Regions from separate parts of the Homo sapiens genome. Here regions 2 and 3 are each linked to region 1. The links are contacts of gene promoters, found by promoter capture Hi-C in blood cells and fetal thymus (Javierre and others, 2016). All regions are on one chromosome and are shown on one strand. The core of a region is centred on a gene start or on the middle of the fragment in contact, and the rest is flanking DNA. Distances in the headings are between cores, read along the strand shown. Region 1 holds the start of CHRAC1 (chromatin accessibility complex subunit 1). Region 2 overlaps DENND3 (DENN domain containing 3). Region 3 overlaps DENND3 (DENN domain containing 3).

What was found. The method cuts DNA at HindIII sites, captures the fragments that hold promoters and counts their contacts. A CHiCAGO score of 5 or more calls a contact.
Region 2: a fragment that was not itself captured here is called in contact with the fragment with the promoter of CHRAC1 in region 1 in 1 of 17 cell types (M0 macrophages); the score reaches 5.3 in M0 macrophages.
Region 3: a fragment that was not itself captured here is called in contact with the fragment with the promoter of CHRAC1 in region 1 in 1 of 17 cell types (neutrophils); the score reaches 8.9 in neutrophils.

What each region holds. Positions count from the first base shown.
Region 1 is chr8:140,509,388-140,513,884 of GRCh38, forward strand. CHRAC1 (chromatin accessibility complex subunit 1) reads left to right here and starts at 1,935. Exons shown (of 3, transcript NM_017444.6): 1 at 1,935-2,259. The coding sequence starts at 2,113. RefSeq lists enhancers at 1,328-1,407, 1,418-1,627, 2,688-2,997 and a silencer at 1,638-2,647. The HindIII fragment of the contact is 9,156 bases long and covers 1-4,497 here.
Region 2 is chr8:141,160,695-141,165,541 of GRCh38, forward strand. DENND3 (DENN domain containing 3) reads left to right here. Exons shown (of 23, transcript NM_001352890.3): 9 at 1-93; 10 at 2,639-2,735; 11 at 4,492-4,595. Among named protein-coding and RNA genes, the nearest start is that of DENND3-AS1, 33 kb to the left of the region's middle. RefSeq lists a silencer at 3,956-4,250. The HindIII fragment of the contact is 3,989 bases long and covers 236-4,224 here.
Region 3 is chr8:141,176,330-141,181,032 of GRCh38, forward strand. DENND3 (DENN domain containing 3) reads left to right here. Exons shown (of 23, transcript NM_001352890.3): 15 at 262-432; 16 at 1,738-1,867; 17 at 4,418-4,525. Among named protein-coding and RNA genes, the nearest start is that of DENND3-AS1, 49 kb to the left of the region's middle. RefSeq lists enhancers at 2,298-2,387, 2,398-2,447. The HindIII fragment of the contact is 3,883 bases long and covers 1,487-4,703 here.

The sequences.
Region 1 (4,497 bases), core at 685-3,184:
CCAGAGGGGCTGCCCTATCACTCGCACATGGTTTTGTTTCCTTCGTAGCTTTCAGCATTGGAGGTGTATTTTTTTTTTTTTTTTTTTTTTGAGATGGAGTCTCCCTCTGTCGCCCAGGCTGCTGGAGTGCAGTGGCGCGATCCCGGATCACTGTAACCTCTGCCTCCTGGGTTCCAGCGATTCTCCTGCCTCAGCCTCCCGAGTAGCTGGCATTACAGGTGCCCACCACCACGCCCAGCTAATTTTAATAATTTCAGTAGAGATGGGGTTTGACTATATTGGTTGGGCTGGTCTCGAACTCTTGACCTCAGGTGATCCACCCACCTTGGCCTCCCAAAGTGCTGGGATTACAGGCGTGAGCCAAAGCGCCCGGCTGGAGGTATTCTTACTTATTTTTCAGTCTCCCTCAGACCTGAAGGTCAGCTCTAAGAGGGCAGGGACCATGGCAGCCCTGCTCACTGGCTGTACCCTTGTGCCTAGCAATGCCTGACATGTATTTCTGTGCTCAATTATTTGCGCCAGGACCTCACGTCACAGTGGTGAAGAAGACACTACACTTAACACGCTCCAATTCAAACCTCTGCCAAAATGTGCTCCCTGTCTCAGTAAAGGGCTCTTTACCAAGGCCTTTCTGATATCTCAGTAAGCTGTGCTGATACTCCACAGCAGCTCCCTCTTGAAATCAGACCCCAAACCCTACCACTTCCCATGATCCTGGCAGAAGTTAAGTTGGTGGCCAGGCGCGGTGGCTTACGCCTGTAATCGCAGCACTCTGGTAGGCCGAGGCGGGCGGATCACGAGGTCAGGAGATCGAGACCATCCTGGCCAACATGGTGAAAACCCGTCTCTACTAAAAATACAAAAAATTAGCTGGGTGGCGCGTGCCTATAATCCCAGCTACTCAGGAGGCTGAGGCAGGAGAATTGCTTGAATCGGGGTGTTGGAGGTTGCAGTGAGCCGAGATCGCACTGCACTCCAGCCTGGCGACAGAGCGAGACTCTGTGTCAAAAAAAAAAAAAAAAAAAAAAGTTAAGTTGGACCCCTTACTCTTCCAAGGGCCTCCCCACTCATTCAGAGCGAATTCTGCGGTCTCCGCGGCCTTCCCTGGTCTGGCCCCTGACCATCTCCTGCCTCTCTCCTCCCAGCTGCTGTCCCCTTGGTACTGCCGGCCTCCTGAGGGCCACGTTCCTGGGTTCTCGTAATCATCTTCTACCTGGTCTCTGTGATTCCGGCCTTACGCGCACCCACGCCCTCCCAGCCGGCAGCTGCAGGGATCCTTTTAAAACTGCCCGGGACTCCACTGCTCAAACCCTACCACCACTTCCCATTTTCCTTAGAAAAAAAAATCCAACAGGACCTAGCCCCGGGCTGCCTGTCAGACCTCGGCGAGCACGCCAGGCTCTGCACACCGTCTCTCGGAGCAGTCCCGAAGAGGCCGTTCCCACCAGACTCCGGGACCTCCTCAGGGCAGCTCTTCGTCCTCCACCCCGCAGGAAGGCTCTTCTCCCAATCACCCCGCGGCGCAGCAAGCCTGGCCCCGCCGCATCGCCCGCGCTGGACTCTGCTCTTCCACCGGTCGCCTGGCTACCGGCGCAGGACGCATCCGCTGTCCGCTTGGTCGTCCCCCCTGGACTTTGTGCTTCAAGAAAGCGTCACTTTTTGCCGACGGCGGCACGCCCGGTCCTAGTACAGCGCAGGCGCTTAACACACAGCACCCAGCCACGAGGCCCGGAGTCAGAGGGCTTTGCTTGCCCATTCACAGAGCCCTCACCCGCGGATCAAAGTCGTATTCCGCGACCGCAGCCCGGAGACTCCCGGGAGCGGCGCGGTGCGCCCCGCCCCCGCCAGGCTCTCGGCTGCCGGTTCCGCGCCGGGCCTCGCACTCGGGGGCGGTGTCCGAGCGTCGGCGCATGCGCAGATCGGGGGCGCGAGGCCTCACGGAGCTCGTAGTTTCCCGGACGGGCCGCTCCCGGCCTCGCGGCCTCGCCTCCCCACACTACAACTCCCACGGGGCAGCGGGCGCGGCTCCCCGTACCCACCAGCTGGCCGGGCAGGGCAGCCACTTCGCGGTCGGGCCCGCCGGCTGCGGGCACCCGCGCGACGGGCGGGAAGATGGCGGACGTGGTCGTGGGTAAAGACAAGGGCGGGGAGCAGCGGCTCATCTCGCTGCCTCTATCCCGCATCCGGGTCATCATGAAGAGCTCCCCCGAGGTGTCCAGCATCAACCAGGAGGCGTTGGTGCTCACGGCCAAGGCCACGGTGAGGGGGCAGGGCGGGGGTGTGGGCCGCCCTTACCCCTCGCGCCCCGCCCCGCCGGGCTCTGGGCACTGCCCAGTCCCCTTAGGCCCGCGCGCCGCCGGCTGCTCTTGCCGGGCTCGCGCGCGCCCCGCTGTCCCCGTCCCACGCCGGCGCGCGCTTCGGTGCCCGCGCGCCCCCACACTTTCTCGCGCGTCTTCGCCCCGCCCACCCCTCGCCGCTCCCTCACGTTCTCCAGTTTCTTCGCCTCGCCTACCGCGCGCCTCTCCCGCCCTTTGTCGCCTTCCTTCGCTCCGCCCGCCCCTTCCTTCCGTGCGCACCTTCGCCCCGCCCACCCCACTGTCCTCCCGCCGTTTCTCTCGCGCTTCCATTCGGCAAACCCGTAAGCTCCCGCGTTCCTCTGCGCGCCTTTCGTCCCTCCCACCTGTGCGCTCACGTCCTCCCTCGCGTGCGGCGCTCAGTTTCCGGCCCTACCCGTGGGCGTCGGCGCCTAGTGGCGCTCTTCTCATTTGGGTTCTTTGGGGGCTCTTTCACCCGCGACTCCCTACTCCCGGCCTGCCTTTTTCTTGTCACTGGACTGCTTCGTGCTTTGAGGGCCCTAACTCCTCCAGTGTCCCGTGGGAGGGGCAGCCGGGCGCTTCACCCGCGACTCGAGGCTCTTTTCCCGCGCGTGCGGTGCCAGCTCCAGCGGTCCGAGGCTTTCGAGCCCTCCCGCCCGCCACAGCTGGGGCCCCTCGTCTAAGAGGCAGCACATTCCCCAACCAGAATTTAAGGAAGTCCGGGGAACTTAAGTTTTACAGCCTGCTTAGCATCCTCCTGGGTGCAAAATAGATAATTTTGTCTTTTTTTAAAAAAATTGCGTCTCGATAGTGTTAGGCCAGATGTTTTCCTGTTCTGACACTGGGCCATGTTTCAGCTACACAGTTAAATGCTTTAGCTTGTCTTGGATTCTATTTTCCAGTCCCTACTTGTAGTTAAGTATATGATGTCCCTGCAGTGTTGGACTAGAACTAAGGGAAGTGGGAAATTACAGGTTTCTTGCCCGCTTTATGTCAGAGCCATGTTTTCCTAGAGCCCAGGGAAATAATTGCATATTCAGCATTTCATCTGGGGACATTTGTATTTTCCTATACAATTTCATTCTATTGGTATTAAGGAATGAGGATTTATGCAGGCACTTCTGACCCGTTATTTTATTTTTTGAGATGGAGTTTCCCAGGCTGGAGTGCGGTGGCACTGTCTTGCTCACTGCAACCTCTGCCTCGCGGGTTCAGATGATTCTCCTGCCTCAGCCTCCTGAGTAGCTGGGATTACAGGTGCCTGCCATCACACTCGGCTAATTTTTGTATTTTTTGGTAGAGACAGGGTTTCACCATGTTGCCCAAGTTGGTCTTGAACTCCTGACCTCAGGTGATCCGTCTGCCTCAGCCTCCCAAAGTGCTGGGATTACAGGCGTGAACCATCACGCCCGTCTTTCTCATCCCTTATTAACTGAACTAGATGCATTAAAGTCAAAACCTTGAGAAAGAGGCTCAGTTCAGCCTCTGTAAAAATGAAGACTTGGCCCTGCTATAAGAACTGGGATGCAGGAGGGAGAAGATCAGTTCCGGTTGTTTCATTAGGTCTGAGGGTTGTATGTCAGTTCCTAGAATAGAAAAGTTTTGGCAAAATGTAAGCTGTGGTCACTATAGTTGTAGGTGAACCACCTTAGAAACAGTGTATGCAAATAGAAGACTAAAAAGGTATTCCTGAGCCAAATAGAATTTTTGAATGGCTTTTTGCTACTTTCTATTTTTTTTTCTTTTTTTTTGAGACGGAGTCTCGCTCTGTCGCCCAGGCTGGAGTGCAGTGGCGCGATCTCGGCTCACTGCAAGCTCCGCCTCCCGGGCTTACGCCATTCTCCTGCCTCAGCCTCCCGAGTAGCTGGGACTACAGCCGCCACCATGCCCGGCTAATTTTGTTTTTTTTTTTTATTTTATTTTTAGTAGAGACGGGGTTTCACCGTGTTAGCCAGGATGGTCTCGATCTCCTGACCATCCTTGGTCCGCCGTCCTTGGCCTCCCAAAGTGCTGGGATTACAGGCCTGAGCCACAGCTCCCGGCCGCTTCTTTCTTTTACTCTAGAGGTTGGTCATTAAACAGTTACGATTCATCTTTTTCGTAAGTTAGACATCTAAAATAAGCCTCTGGAAAATGCCTGCTTCTCCGCCAATTTTGATACTGGCTTTGCTTTCTTTCTGAC
Region 2 (4,847 bases), core at 980-3,479, 650 kb after region 1:
GAAGGAGGGCCGAGCCCACCGGCGGTCCTGGCAGCAGAAACTCAACTGCCAGATACAGCAGACCACCCTGCAGCTGCTCGTGAGCATCTTCAGGTACGTGAGAGAACATTCCCAGTGTCCATGAGGAGGTAACCAGCCAGCCATCCATTCTATGGGGATCGTGCACCCCGCCCCAGAGGGCAGGCCATTAGTACCATTTGCCTGGCAAACATGAGTGGTCCCCGCCCCCTGCCAAAGCTTTTCTTGTGACTGTAACAATCAGCAGTTACAGGGAGTTTGTTCTTTTGATTCTGACCTTGCCTGTGCCTTCCTAACACCCTCTCCTGCTGGTGACTGCCTTCCTAACAGCTTCTCCTGCTGGTGACTGTGCCTTACTACCTTACTAACGCCCTCTCCTGGTGACCCCCTGCAGGTGGCTGTTTTGGGACAGCCCTCTAGGAAGACGCAAATCTGATAAACCTGCAGGGAGCACCTGTCACTCTGGCCTGTGCTGGCTCCGGGCTCTGGCTCAGTCCGTGGAGGGCTCTGTCCCGAGAGGCCTGCATCCAGGGGCTAGTGAGGGACAGACAGGCCATTTTGATGTGACTCATAAGCTAGATCATGAAACCATCTATGGGAGAGCCACAGGACGGGTGGGGCACTCAAGATGTGCCTGTTAGCAAGTTTTCTTTCTCCTCATTCCACTAATTACAGCATTAGCTACCTCCTGCATGCTATTGCTTCCCCAGCACCTGAGCTGGAATTGGTTAAGTGGACAAGTCAAGTGTGTTTATTTCAGTGTGATACAGTACAGGTATTGAGTTGCTATTTCTGGCCTAAATAGGCAGTCACTTAAGGAATGTATGGCAAAAATGATAGCTTCATAGATAAGTACTTTTTAATGCAAAAGCCTTTGGGCTTCTCCCACCCTTTCTCCTTTTCTCTGGCAGTGTTCTTCCTCTCCTTCTTGCTGGTTGCTCCCTGAGTCCAGCAGTGAAGGAGGCACCCCCGATGCTGGCCTCCTCTGTTCTTGAGGGGCCTTCCGCTTTGGGAGGTGGTTAGCACAGAGCCTGCTGGCTTGATCGTACTCTGCGTGATTATTTCAAAATGGAAATTTGAGTGGCCTTTTTTTTTTTTTTTTTTTTGAGATGGAGTCTCACTCTGTCACCCAGCCTGGAATGCAGTGACGCCATCTGGGCTCACTGCAACTGCCGCCTCCCAAGTTTAAGCAATTCTCCTGCCTCGGCCTCTGAAGTAGCTGGGACTGCAGGCGCCTGCCACCACCACGCCTAACTAATTTTTTCTATTTTTAGTAGAGACAGGGCTTCACCATGTTTACCAGGCTAGTCTCCAACTCCTGACCTCAGGTGATCCTCCTGCCTCGACCACCCAAAGTGCTGGGATTACAGGTGTGAGCCATAGCGCCCAGCCTGAATGGCCTATTCTTTTGATGTATTTGTTTGCATAAAGCGAATAATTTATTAGGAAAAAATGGGATGGTGTATTACAGACATGTGATATTATCTCTGCTCAAAGAGGCATAATTAGTGGGGTCCTAAATATGTTGTTTTCCTTTTGTTCTTTGAAGATGAAATATCTTATGAACAATTTTTTTTTAATTTCTTAATATTTTACAAACTCAATGAGTTGACAGAAAAGCAGAATAGTCCCAGCCACTCCAGAGGCTGAGGTGGGAGGATCCCTTGAGCCTAGAAGTTTGAGACCAGCCTGGGCAACATAGCAAGATCCCGGCTCTTTAAAAAAAAGAGGCAGAAAATATGATTACATATGATAAAACTTTATTTCCCCTAGATGAAATAATTTATTCTCTCCAAGAAAACACTGAACACATTACGTACTAAGTATGCCCTGTAAGGTTATTCATTCTATTTATATATTACTTTAGATCTGGGAGATCATGTGCTAAAATCGCGAGTTTGTAACATGATCTGAGGAAACCGGGTACAAAGAGGTGAAGTGGGCCGGGCTCGGTGGCTCACGCCTGTAATCCCAGCACTTTGGGAGGCCGAGGTGGGTGGATCACCTGAGGGCCAACATGGTGAAACCCCATCTCTACTAAAAATATAAAAATTAGCCAGGCATGGTGGTGTGTACCTGTAGTCCCAGCTACTCGGGAGGCTGAGGCAGAAGAATCACTTGAACCTGGGAGGTGGAGGTTGCAGTGAGCCAAGATTGTGCCACTGCACTCCAGCCTGGGCCATAGAGCAAGACCCCGTCTAAACAAACAAACAGACAAACAAACACAGAGGTGAAGTGACTTGTCCGGGAAGGCTGGCGGCCGAGCTGGTCAGCACTTGGAGAGTCTGGCTGCCCCTCTGGGCTCCCCACCCTGAACTCAGTTTCATGTGTGTGGACCGCAACTGACTTTTGTGTCTTAATTTGCATAAGGAACTAGTGGGCTGGAGGAAGGTGAGAACAGGAACACTGCCTCCTGTACTTTCGTTCTAGCTGGGGGAAATTTATGCTTGACCACAAAATACATCCACATCGTATCATTTTGGTAATCAAGAATCTTTCTGAAGAACATGGCTTTTTCAAAGTTCGTATCTCTTCTAACCATTTCTCTGCTACTAAAAGTGGTATATTTTTCATGTATTTAAGAAAGTTTTAGCACTCAGACTCTCTTTCTCTTTGTTAGGGATGTAAAGAATCATTTAAACTATGAACACAGAGTCTTTAATAGTGAAGAATTTCTCAAAACCAGGGCTCCAGGGGACCATCAGTTTTATAAGCAGGTGAGAGCTGTGGGATTTGGGTGTGCCTGTGTGTGTTCAATCCATTATCCTTTTCTGTATTTAAATACTTTTCAAAATAAGTGTTCTCAAGTGTATCAACTTTTCCAAAAAGTTTGTTTTAGCATGGTTCCTTTTGACCATGTGGCTCTCCCTCTTTTTTAAAAAAATCAGCTTTTTAAGAGTATAATTTACTTGTGGCCAGGCACAGTGGCTCATGCCTGTAATCCCAGCACTTTGGGAGGCCGAGGCGGGCAGATCACCTGAGGTCAGGAGTTCGAGACCAGCCTGGCCAACATGGTGAAATCCCATCTCTACTAAAAATACAAAAATTAGCTGGGTGTGGTAGTGCACGCCTGTAATCCCAGCTACTCAGGAGGCTAAGGCAGGAGAATTGCTTGAACCCAGGGGGTGGAGGTTGCTGTGAGCCAAGATGGTGTCACTATATTCCAGCCTGGGCGACAGAGCAAGACTCCGTCTCAAAAAAAAAAAAAAAAAAAAAGTATAATTTACTTAAAATATGGCCATTTTAAGTGTGTGGTTTGATGGATTTTGACAAATGTACATATCTGTATCACCACTTCCTCAACCTGGACATAGAACATTTCCATGGCTCCAGTCTGCCCCATCCCTCCCCAGGTCCTGGCAACTCTACCTGTGTGCATCCCCGTAGACGGCTGGCCCATCTCAGAGTCTTGCGCTGTGCAGTCCTGCGGTCTGCGCTCTGTCTGCCTCTCTCCCTCAGCCTCCTGCCTCGGACCGAGCTGGGCTACTGTGTGTCTCAGCGGCGGCTCCTTTTTTTGCTAGGAATGTCCCGTGGTTGGGACAGAGTGCGCTTTGTTCTTCTGTCCACCTGCTACTGAGCATTGGGGTTGTTTCCATTTGTGACTATTACAAAAAAATAATCACCTTGGGGGCTTTGCCCTGGCAGGCGATTGAAGCTGCCTGAAGAGCCCCTTGATCCTTTGGGGGTTTGTTTTTACAGCTTTGGGGTGGGCCGAGAACAGCCTTTCTCTAGGGTTGGTTTATAGCCTAACCCATCTGCTAAGTGACGTACCCTGCCCCGGGTGTCTCCTGAATGGCTGAGGGGTCAGCCAGGGCCCTCCGCCTTGGCTGTTGGGAGCGTGACTGGCTCTCTGCCCTGTGAGCTTGGAGAGTTGTTTTGCTTACAGCTTCCCAGTCGTTCTTTGGTTTGATGCGGTTTCGCCCTATGACTGGGCAGCGGGGTATTCAGCAAAGGCTTAGGGAGACCCTGATGCAGGCTCCGGGAGCTCCCTGTATCATTCCCTCCTCTCCAGAGCCCTGCCCGAGGCTTCCAGCTGCCTCAGCCTCTGTGAGCTCCCTCCATGCCCTCAGTGCTGGAGCTGCGCCAGCCACGAGCCTGCCTCTCGTCCAGCATCTGAAAACAGTCGTTTCCTCTTTTTTATCGAGTTTCCTCATAGTTTATGTCAGGAGGATATGTCTGAGCCTTGTCTACTGCCTTATGGCCAGAAGCTTGTGTCCACCTCTTGTAGCTATGATGAAATACTCTTTTGTTCATGGGGTGGGTATGTGGGACCCAGTGTGTGAATGTATGGCAGCCATTTCTTCTCCTGTGTGAATGAGGAAGAGCAGAAAACCCTCGAGTTCATTCACTCAGTCAATATCCACTGGGTGTGAGTGGTGATGCCCAGTTCTGTGCCAGGAAGGCTCAGGGGCTTTGGAGCAGGGACCTGGGGAGTCGGCACAGCCCAGTGACCAGCCCCTCTCTCTTTTCCAGGTCTTAGACACCTACATGTTCCATTCTTTTCTTAAAGCCCGGCTCAATAGGAGGATGGACGCCTTTGCTCAGATGGACCTCGACACCCAGTCGGAGGAGGACAGGTGCTTCACTGTTGTGTTTTGGATCTGCAGCTCTTTAGGAATCACAGTGTTCAAGGACCTCAGTTTTATTCGAATGAGTAAATGAGAAAGTCAATGGGAAATACCTTGTGCTTAGAAACTCATGATGAACTGGGCGACAGCTAGGAAGCTCTTCTCTCCATGTTTCTACTTCTTCTTTTTTTTTTTTTTTTTGAGACGGAGTCTCGCTCTTGTTGCCCAGGCTGGAGTGCAGTAGCTCAATCTCCGCTCACT
Region 3 (4,703 bases), core at 2,178-4,677, 670 kb after region 1:
ATGTGAAAGAATGCGCTGCCTTCGGACACTGGGCGAGCCCAGCTGTGTGGGTGGGTGTAGGTGCCGCACCGCAGGTGAATCCTACCTGCCGTCCATGGGAACACTGCCCCTCACCCGGGGCCCTGCCTTCCACATGCCAGCAGGATGCGTGCCTGCAGCCCATCTGCCTCTTCATTCCAGAGCCCGCTCTGCCTCTGTCTCTGGTGAATCCACGTGTTCTCTGAGTGTGACATTCCTAACTTTTCTTTTCTGCCTCTGCAGGAGGTCAGGAGAACCACTACTACATTTCTACTTCGGAGAATACCCACTTTAAAAATCAGAGTGGCGTCCAAGAAAGAAGTCTTCGAAGCCAACCTGAAAACCGAGTGTGACCTTTGGCACCTGATGGTGAAGGAGATGTGGGCTGGGAAGAAGCTGGCCGATGACCACAAGGTGGGAGACGCGGGTCCCCTCTGCCCTTTGCTGTGGCTGCCTCAGGGGCCTCTCGCCACCTGTGGGTCCTGTGGCAGTCCTCAGCTGTGAGTGCTCGGGCTCGGGTCTGAGTGTCTTAAGCAGAGTAAGTTTGTCGGACACCATCTTGACAGAAGCATTGAAGATGTGGTCTGTGTGACCCAGCGAGAGGCCTCACGGTGCTACGGAAGAGCATGATGAGAAAACGCAGGGCGGTCTGGGCAGGTGTGGGTGCCCCACTGCCCGCTCCAGACTGGCGACATCCCAGAGAGTGGGGCCTCCCGGGGGCGGACGGTGCTGGTGCTGTCCACACCCGCAGGCCGGAGTTGGGTGTTTTGGGCTTCCCTGCTCTGAGCGACTCTTCACAGTCACAGGATTTGGAATTCGGCAGGGGCAGTACTGCTTTCCTTCCACAGGGTTGAGATGATTTTTCTAGGGATTGTTGTACCTTAATTTACTTTGGGCCAAATTGATAGCTTTGATGATATCAAATGACAATTGCATAGTAATGAAGGGAACCATGGGCCGGTGGTGTGTAGAGGAGGCATCCACGCTGCTCAAGGGTGGCACAAGACAGGAAGACGCCTTAGAAAATGGGCAAAGACCATGAACGCGGAACTCACAGAAAGGGAACAGTTCACCAGGTTATGAAGAGGTGTGTAGCCCCACTAATCCTCAGAGAAATGCCGGGGACGATGGCACCCACTACAGTGGCAGTGCTAGGAGGAACAGATGGGGCCACAGCGGGAGGGTTGCTGTTATTACAGGAAGTTCCCGGTCACAGGGCAGAGGGGGACTGGGTCCTTTCTAAGATTCCAGTGCCCTGTGGCTTTTAGACTAGCCATCTGATGCTATACCCACTGGTTTACATAGCATAAACCAGCATAGTCAAACCAAAGCCCGTGGGCCAGTGGACTGTCTTTGTAAGTAAAGTTTTATTGGAACACAGTCCTGCCTGTTTGTTTATGAAATGTCCCTCGGTGCTCCCATGCCGCAGTGGCAGGCAGTGGGTGATCTCAGCTGAGACTGGCCACAAAGCTTGAAATGCCTCCTGCCTAGCCCCTTCTAGAAAACACTGGCTGAGCCCTGGTATAAACAATCAATATTTGTCTTAAGTAAGAGAAGAAATATATGACATAAAATCCAAATTCATCCGTGATCTAAACTCTTCATGTCACTTTGGAAAAAGGCATTTTGGAAGGATTGTCCTGTGTGTTGCAACAAGGTCTCCGGTGAACTGATCTTAGTGATTCTTGCTGTTTTGAAACGCACGTGTTTCTGTTGTAGGACCCTCACTACGTCCAGCAGGCGCTGACCAACGTCTTGCTGATGGACGCCGTCGTGGGCACACTGCAGTCACCAGGCGCCATCTACGCTGCCTCCAAGTTATCCTACTTTGATAAGATGAGTAACGAAAGTAAGATAAGCCCGTTCTTAGCGTGGATCATTGTCCTGATTACACGCCTTAAGTGATTTTATCTGGTCGATGTCTGTTTTATCAAGTAGAACCGAGCCCAGCTCCCCCAGTTTTTTCTTTTATATTTGTAATTTACTCTCGAGTCGCACACCTTATCCGGCATCTTTCCTTCCTTCACTGCACAGTGCACCTTGGAGCCCCTTGCGCATCCAATTGAGGCACCTCGTCGTTTTAATGTCTGGATAGCATTGCAATGTACACTGCAAGCATTTGTGGTGATTCGTAATTACAAACAACAGCCTTTCCTCTGGCTGGCTGAAGCAGACTAGAAACCTGTGGGAGGTTGTGGAGCGGCTCCTGGAATCTCTGACTGGTGGGGAGCGGGTGTCTGGGACTTGCAGTTAGGAACACACCTGCTGAGAAGCTGGGAACGTCTACACAGCTGGCCTGTTGACTGACGGGCTTCACCGCTGCATGAGTGAGGAGAGGCCCTGCACGTCAGGATCCGCTTTTTTCTTGATTGGGTCAGCTTCCCCAGACAGGAATCCTCTGACTGTCCTGTAGATTTGCATCTGGCTCTCGCATTCTGGAAGCCATAGAGGCTGGTGCTGGACTCCCATTTTTTTCTTGTGAAAGGTGATCTTCAAGCCTAGGGTTTTCTGGTCTTCTTGTGACTGAGTGATAGACACCGTTTGGGTGAAGGACGTTTGGTCTGTCCCTTCATCAGTGAGTGAGCACTGGCGTGGCCTCTGTGTTGTGGCTGCTGTGAGCATTCATGTGTAAGCTCTGGTGTGCACATCTGTTTTCATTTCCCTTGGGCGTAGATCTAGGGGACTCTGGCTTTTTAAAAAGTCGCAGAATTAGGAACAAACCTCACTTACGTGTTTATTTCCTTGGGCACAGTTTGCTCTCTTTGTGGCATCTGTCACCAACTGCAGGACCTCTGCCACTTTCTGGGTACAGAATCCCTCTCCCACGTGACCCAGAGGGACCTTGAGCTGCAGCAGCAGCCGGGCTCAGGTGCCTGTGTTCCTGCAAGGCCAGCTGAGTGGCTTGAAGGAGCTTTTGTCTGACAGTCCTGGAACCAGACATTGATTGCTCTTTTCTTTTTCCTTGGGAGCAAAATCAAACAAACCCCCTACTTCAGCTGTTGATCTCATTCCAAACTCATGCCTAATCTCTGTCGGGCGTTTACAGGAAAGCCTTCTAACGCCTCTGTTATCAGCGCATGACGGCAGACGAGGAGCCGCCATGCTGGTGTCACTTGGTGTGGTGCGCTGGCTCCCGCTCCCTCGTTACAAATCCGGAAACATTTTCCCATGTGTAAAGCTCAGGACACATGAGCCTGAGCTTAATTTAGTAGCTTATGGCCAACTCATGATGGAAGGTCTCAGACTGTACGGAATTAAATAATACCCGAAGATGTCATAGTCCGAGGCAGGAGCTGAAGAGGCGTTGGCCGCGGCCAGTTGGCTTTCACCGCAGCCCGGTGTAGCCCGCCAGCCTCGTGCGGAGTCCTGGTCGACCCCTTGCTGACAGTGTGATCTTCATTTGATCACGGATGTCGACGTGTGTCGGTTTCTTCATCTTTCTTTTTTCAAAATGGGGATAACGGGACCAATCTCATCAGGTTGCTATGACAGTAACAAAATGATGGAAGAGAAGCACTTAAGGGGCAGGCCCTGGACGGCAGGGACTGAGGGAGTCCTGGACGCAGGAGGTCGAGGCGCCCGCAGGGGCTGGCAGGAGGGACCGCAGAACAGGCTGGTCCCAGGGGCCTCCGGGCAGCAATGAGGAGCCGTGTCAGAGCAGGCTGTGCCCGGGGGCCTCCAGGCAGGAGGCCGCTTTAGGTTTTGCCTGGAAACATGGGTTGGATTGGATAGCAAGAGGAGCATTAGGATATCCTGAGGAGCAGTGGTTTTGAACGGGGGGCGATGTTGCACCCCCTCACTGCGGAGAGGCATTTTGACAGCACCTGGAGATATCTGTGGTTGTGTGTGAGGTGCTACTGGCATCTCATGATGCTCCACATCCCATGGCACACAGGATGCTGGGCATTCGCCCACAGCCAGGATTATCCAGCCCAACACGCCCCTGGTTCTAGGCTGGGAAACCGCGCTCATGGGTTAGGTCTCTGGGTTTCATCTTGGGAGGGCTTCGTTATTGAGGAGAATTTTATATCTCCGCTTTGCTGGGCACTGTGTCATGTTTGGGTGTAGCTAGAGATCACAAGGGATGGCTCAGGAGCAGAGAAGAAGGCTGTGTTTAAACAAAGGCAGCTCGAGGCATAGGGGCATGGAGGTGTGGTGTGGACACAGGTGGGGGATGCGCCTGGCCACTCACTCGCACACCAGGTGACAACCAGGAAAGGAGGCCGAGGGTGCATGGCTTTCTTTCAGTGCCCCGGGTCCAAGAGACCTTCGTCTTCACAAATTAGGAAGTTTTACCTGCAAGCTGATATTCTGCAGAAATCAGAGTGCGTGAGGCCGTTGCATCGCGTCTGTTTCCTTGAGGCTGCAACAGTAACACTCCAAGTGTCTTGTCTTTCAGTGCCCATGACGCTTCCGGAGACAACCCTGGAAACACTGAAGCATAAAATCAACCCCTCGGCGGGGGAGGCGTTCCCACAAGCGGTGGACGTGCTGCTCTACACTCCAGGTAAGGCCCCTCTGCCCGCGCCTCGCTGCCAGTTTTCAGCCAATCTGATGCGCTTAGGTTTGGGTTCAGGGTCAGCCCTGAAGTGAAAGGGGAGCCAGTGTCACGGGATAAGTGGGGACAAGGTGCCTGTTGCTTTCTGAGGTGAAGTGCTGAGTGACAGGTGTGCAGCTGGCACGAC